Linked DNA regions of Homo sapiens: region 2 is linked to region 1. Evidence: promoter capture Hi-C in 16 types of primary human blood cells and fetal thymus (Javierre and others, 2016). All regions are on one chromosome and are shown on one strand. Each heading gives the region's core, a stretch centred on a gene start or on the middle of the fragment in contact. The rest is flanking DNA. Distances are from core to core; before and after follow the strand shown.

What was found. Contacts are between HindIII fragments. The CHiCAGO score rates a contact against its expected background, and 5 or more counts as called.
Region 2: a contact is called between a fragment that was not itself captured here and the fragment with the promoter of CA1 in region 1, in 6 of 17 cell types (erythroblasts, naive B cells, total B cells and 3 more). The highest score is 13.9, in erythroblasts.

The regions. Positions count from the first base shown.
Region 1 is chr8:85,376,073-85,379,492 of GRCh38, forward strand. It overlaps CA1 (carbonic anhydrase 1), which reads right to left and starts at 2,041. Exons shown (of 8, transcript NM_001128831.4): 1 at 1,974-2,041. RefSeq lists a promoter at 2,069-2,860. The HindIII fragment of the contact is 5,896 bases long and covers 1,834-3,420 here.
Region 2 is chr8:85,955,450-85,958,943 of GRCh38, forward strand. No RefSeq gene overlaps it. Among named protein-coding and RNA genes, the nearest start is that of LINC02849, 100 kb to the left of the region's middle. The HindIII fragment of the contact is 1,656 bases long and covers 628-2,283 here.

The DNA of each region.
Region 1 (3,420 bases), core at 791-3,290:
TTAATCCCAGTACTTTGGAAGGTCCAAGCTGGTGGATCGCTTGAGGTTAGGAGTTCAGGACCAGCCTGGCCAACATGGCGAAACCCCATCTCTACTAAAAATACAAAAATTGGCCGGGTGTGGTAGCGCATACTTGTAATCCCAGCTACTCGGGAGGCTGAGACACGAGAATTGCTTGAACCGGGAGGCAGAGGTTGCAGTGAGCAGAGATCATGCCACTACACTCCAGCCTGGGTGACAGAGTGAGATTCTGTCTCAAAAAAACAAAAAAGTTATAAAAGAGGTAACTTTAAAAATTGGGTAAGGGGGCCGGGCACGGTGCCTCACACCTATAATCCCAGCACTTTGGGAGGCCGAGGTAGGCGGATCATCAGAGGTCAAGAGATTGAGACAATCCTGGCCAACATGGTGAAACCCTGTCTCTACTAAAAATACAAAAATTAGACGGGCGTGGTGGCACATGCCTGTAGTCCCAGGTACTCCGGAGACTGAGGCAAGAGAATTGCTTGAACCCAGGAGGCAGAGGTTACAGTGAGCTGAGATCACACCACTGCACTCCAGCCTGGTGACAGAGAAATTGTCTCAAAAATAAATAAATAAATAAATAAATAAATAAATAAATAAATAAATAAATAAAACTAGGTAAGGGTACACATGATATACTAGACTGCATGAAACAGTGTGAATTTGGAAAGCTCTGTTACCTCAAGGAGATGCCCAGCAGATTGACTTTCGGGTCGTGTAGAGGCACCCTGGGCATGTGTGGTACCTAATTAGGTCCCTGACCCTCTCTCAAATTCTTTAACTGACACTTCAACCCTGGCCTTGATTCTCTGATACAGTATCCTCAGCCCAATCAGATCATACATCTATCTATTCTCTTTATTTGCATAAGTGGATTTACAATACTGGGAGAAGAGAGAAATAACTATAAGAATGTTGAAGTTAGTCAAATCCACAATATTAACACATTTGTATTAACTTTAGAAATTTAATTATTTAATCCTTGAGATAACCTATGAAAGATTGTTTGTTAAGTTACTTGAAGCATTTAATATAACCTGATATATTAGAAAATCAGATATATGAACCATATAATTTCAATTTTAAAGTACAAGAGCATTTTCTTCAGTCTATACACAGTGTTTGAATGTTTAAGAGAACATAACTTACTACTGCATAAATTTGGTTTATTACTTTTACTGGAATTGCTTTAATTATTAGAGCCCCCTCCCTCCTTTTATAAACTTGCAAGATGTATAAAAGATACTAATGTGTCAGGCATTTGAAATGCTTGAGAGATTCAGGTAGACTAAATTTGTAATTGATATAATATATAATATTTAAAGGAACTTAATTAACCAAGTCTATCAATTGCATTATTTGTTTAGGGGAATTAACGTCAAATTGAACATTAGTCATGGAATAATTTTAAATGGTAATTTATATTGGCTGGGCACAGTGGCTCACGCCTCTAGTCCCAGCACTTTGGGAGGCTGAGGAGGGCAGATCACCTGAGGTCAGTAGTTCGAGACCAGCCTTGCAAACATGGTGAAATCCCCTCTACTAAAAATACAGTAATTAGCCAGGTGTGGTGGCATGTGCCTGTAATCCCAGCTACTCGGGAGGCTGAGGCAGGAGAATCACTTGAACCTGGGAGGCAGAGGTTGCAGTTAGCAGAGATGGTGCCACTGCACTCCAGCCTAGGCTGCCAAGTGAGACTCTGTCTCAAAAAAAAAAAAGGTAATTTATATTATCCTTTTCAGATTTACAGATTTACAGAGATCTGCTTGATAAATATAAAAGGTTTAGAAAAACTATAAAGGTTTTTTAAGCTTTGCAGCTTTCATTCATTGAATAGTAATTAAGATGTAGGTAGGACTGTATTTTACAAGATTTAAAGATTCTTTTGGCAGTCGGATAAAACACTTCAATGCTCAGCTAGATGAAAGGCAGAAGTCTTTGTTACTTACAGCTCTGAATGAGAGAAGGCTGCCACAGAGGACCACGCAGGGGGTTGCACCTGAGGACTGGGTACCACAGGCTGGAGGGGGAATGGGCAGCTTATGTACAGCAAAAAGGGTGGGGTTAGCTAGGTTGAATAATTTTGAATAATTTGCATAATTTTGGCGGGCTTTGGGGCATGGGCGCTGTCCTTAATTGTCTGATGTCTGGCCCTGTGGTGATTAGAGTGGGTACATAGTGGCCCCAGAGTGTGAGAACCTGATAAGGGAAGTGGTTGGGGTGTGGATTTAATCAGCTGCTCAAGAGAGGAAACTGACCAGCCTCTAGCCAAGGCCTCCATACTAGGTCAAGACAGCACAATAATCAATAAAAATACCATATATGAAATATATTTAGTCACTGATTCCTTTATATCTTGATGTCGATTTTGAACTCAATTATTTGGGGTGTTTGAGTGGCCTGAATAGTAGAGGAGACTTCTACAGAATAGGGCCTAAGTTGCACTAAACAGCATAGAAAACATTTTATTATGACAATAACAAGGAAGAAACCAAGTAGAAATGTGACAAGTCCCTGAAGGCTGACTCGTAACCAGGCTCCCATTTGTTTGGCGTTGGCCAGGAGAATACATCAGTCATGGCAAGGGCCTTTAGTCATATTTTGACTGGATTTCAGAGTGTGTTAAATATGTAAGGCATGTTTTTTTAGGGTGATGGTTTTCTGATCCAGGCTTTCTGTTAGAATGACCTCTTGATTGGTGGTGTTAACCCACCTACAACAAGAAGCTCTAATAATGTTACAAACACCTCTTTGACTAGTTAATATATAATCAAGGACAAATTTACTGTCAAAAAACATTTTTGCCAAAGCTCCCTGGTTTAGCAGGACTAATATTTGCTGTAACTTAGAAATATGATATACTAGAGTTTTGGACATTTGTAGGGTAGCATCAATTATTTTTGACTGTTGGGCTAAAGCAATGGTCCTTGTGGCCATCGCAGCAAGTCCCAGAGCAGTGGTGAGTCCCAGTATTATAGGTACAAATGTGGCACATCAATGACATTTGGCTGGGTAGGGAAAGAATAATTAACATTTATATAAATAGGAATGCCAAGAGAGGCCAGAATGCATCTCGTGGCTTCCAGTTTCAGAGTAATGGAAGGGCAAAGGAGAGGGGATAAACACCCTTGTTGGTTGGGACACAATATAGTTTTGTGGCATTACCATTAGACTGGAAAATTGTACCTTGATTTAGGTAAAGGGAAATTACTAAAGAATGGGACTGGAGGAAGACAGTGGCTTTTGTTGGGCATATGGTGAGAATATGCAGTTGTTCATTGGGTAGCCCATCTGTGGTATGTATTGAGGAAATACGAGTGCAGTTGCCACTTGCCATGAGGGGGCACCCCAATACAGAAGAAAAGGCCGTTTGGAAGTGGTTTTCATTTCTCAGTA
Region 2 (3,494 bases), core at 206-2,705, 580 kb after region 1:
TTAACTTTTTAATCCAGCTGGAGTTCACTTTTGTACATAGTGTAATTTAAATAATTTACCTTTTTTCCTCAAATGAAAAATTAGTTGGCACAAAATTATTTACTGAGTAGTTTGTACTTTTCACTCTGATATGAGATACTGCCTTTATCATTACTAAATTTCAAAGTATACATTACTCTGTTTCTGAACTCTCTATTGGGTTCACCCTATTGTTCTATTTTTTAAGGAATGTAAGGCAGTTTTGATTATTATAACTTAAGTACATGCTTCAATATATGAAAGATCAAATTCCCTCTTATGTTAAAAAATAATTTTTTGATTATTCTTTCATGTTTTATTTTCCAGATGAATTTTGCAGTTAGCCTATAACATTCTATAATTTTCTTGTTGGAACTTGTATTTAAACTACTTTGAATTTATAAATGTCACTTTTTTGTACAATATATAATTCTCTAACTAGATGTTAAAAGCAATGTAGATATAATTTCCATCAAGAAAAAAGTTTCTTTGCAATATCGAAAACTAGAAAGTGAATCTTAGATTTAATGTAAAAAGTAATGAAGAATCTTAAATGGAAGAATGAGATGAAAGATTTGGGTTTAGAAAGATTTTGCTAATTGTTTCAGAAGCTTCCTTAAAGCAAGGTTTCAGTTAGTATTAGGGTTATGATAGGAATAGTCTTACATAAGGGTAAACAGTTAGATTGTGGCAGCAATCTGGCATGAAAGGAAAAGAAGCCAGCTAGGGTAGGGTCAAAGTGTTTGGAGGGGAAAGATGAATGTGAAATATTTCCAAGAAAGAAATAAACTATAATCATACCCTTGTTTGCTAAATGAGTCTCTGGAGCATTACAGTAAAGCATTTTGGTTTCCTTGTCCTTGAGTCTCCATTTGGGACAGAAAGCCTTCAAGACTAGCAATGATGATTCCTATTTTTTACTTCATTTGCATATCTGTGCTATGCCTGCTTTGTGTTTAGAAACATTGCAGGATTATAGTCCCATATTTTCTGTCTTTCACCTTGAGCTGTTGCCTGAGGTTTTCACATATGGTCAATCTTTTGGCTGGCTTTAATACATTTAGACAATAGCCTGCTTCATTTAAAAAACAAAACCATACAGTATAGTTCCTGTCATTGTTTTAAAGTCATAAGAGTATCAAAACTAAATCTGTTACACAAAATATTTAAAAAATAAATTTATTGTGTATATTTGGGGTTTACAACATGATGTTATGAGATACATATAGATAGTAAAATGATTACTTATAGCAAAGCAAATTAATATATCTAGCAACTCATACAGTTACTTTTTATTGTGACAAGAACACAGTAAGAGCTAAAATCTTATTTAACAAAGATTCCTAATAAAATAGAATTTTAGTTACTACAGTCTTCATGTTGTACATTAGATCTCTAACTCATTCATTCTTCATAGCCCCATTTCCTCTTCCATTCCCCTGGCTCCCCACTGCCTCTGGTAACCACTGTTTTATTTTCTTTCTCTGTATATTTGACATTTTTAAACATATCACATATAAGTGAGATAATGCAGTATTTGTCTTTCTTTGTCTGGCTTATTTCACTTAGCATAATGTCCTTCAGTTTCATCCATATTGTGGCAAGTGGCAGGATCTCCTTTTTTAAGGCTGAGTAATAATATTCCATTGTATATTTATACCAGTTTCTTTATCCATTCATCTGTCAACAGGCACTTAGGTTGTTTTCATATCTTGGCTATTGTGAATAATGCTGCAATGAACATTGAAGGACGTAGATACCTTTACAAGGTGATGATCTCATCCCCTTTGGGTATATACCCAGAAAAGAGATTTCTGGGTCATATTGTAGTTCTATTTTTAATTTCTTTAGAAACCCCCACACTGTTTTTCATAATGACTACTTTCCGACCAACAGTGTACTAGGGTTTCCATTTCTCCACATCCTCACCAGTATTTGTTATCTCTTGTCTTTTTCATAATGCCCATCCTAACAGATGTGAGGTGATATCTCATAGTAGTTTTAATTTGCATTTCCCTTATTGTTAATGATGTTTAGCACCTTTTTATATATTGTTTGGCCATTTTTGTGTCTTCTTTGGATCAATATTTGCATAGGTTTTTAGCTCATTTTTTAGTAGGTTTATTTGTTTTTCTGCTATTGGGTTGTGAGAGTTCTTTATAAATGTTGGATATTAATCCCTTATCAGATATGTGGTTTGAAAATATTTTTCCCAGTCTATAGGTTACCTTTTCATTTTGTTGATTTCTTTCTCTGCTGTGTTTAAGCTTTTTAGTTTGATATAATCCCACTTATTTATTTTTCCTTCTGTAGCTAGTGCTTTTGGTGTGATATTCAAAAAATCATTGTCAAGGGTAACATCAAGGAACTTCTCCTCCATGTTCTCTTCTAGGAGTTTTATGCTTTCAGGTCTTGCATTTAGGCCTTTTATCCATTTTGAGTTGATTTTTATGTATGGTGCAAGATAGAGGTCTGACTTCATTCTTTTGCCTGTGGAAATCCAGCTTTCCCAGCATAATTTACTGAAGAGACTACCTTTTATCCATTGTGTCTTCTTGGTGCCCTTGTCAAAAATTAGTTGACCACAAGTTTGGATTTATTTCTGGACTCAATTTTGTTCCATTAGCCTGCATTTCCTTTTTTGTGCCCATACCATACTGTTTTGATTACTATCACTTTGTAATATAATTTTAAGTCAGTCAGTATGATGCCTTCAACTGTGCTTTCCTTTGGCAATATTACTTGGGCTATTTGGGGATTTTTGTGGTTCCATACACATTTTTTTTTGTGGTTCCATACAAATGGATTGTTTTCTCTATTTCTGTGAAGAATGTCATTGGAATTTTCTTAGGAATTGTGTTGAATCTGAATATTGCTTTGGATGGTATGAACATTTTAATGATATTGATTCTCCCAAAGCATGAACACAGGATATTTTTCCATTTATTTGTGTACTCTTCAATTTCTTTCATCAATGTTTTATCATTTTTAGTGTGTAGGTCTTTTAACTCCTTGCTTAACTTTATTACTAAGTATTTTATTTTTCTTGATGTTATGGTAAAGGTGAGTATTTTCTTGATATACAGAAAATTTGGAATCATCCAGGATTACAGGTACTGGCATCCTAAGGAAGTTAGTTTTTCAAAAGGTACTTATCATCATCATCATCATCATCATCATCATCATTATAATTCCTAACATTTATTGAGTAGTCACCGTGTACCAGGCACTTTCTCTGCACACATTATCTAGACACTATAGTATTAGTATTATCTAGATAAATATAGAGTATCGTATTAGTAGAGAGATAGACACTATGAGTGTTCCCATTTTACAGATAAGGAAACTGAGATAAACAAAATGTAAGTAACCTGCCCAAAGGCACACTCCTGCTAAATGACACAGTCTTTATGTTGAACACAGCAATTTCACTACCAAGTCTACACTTTTAATGGCTATTCTAGATGACTAAATCA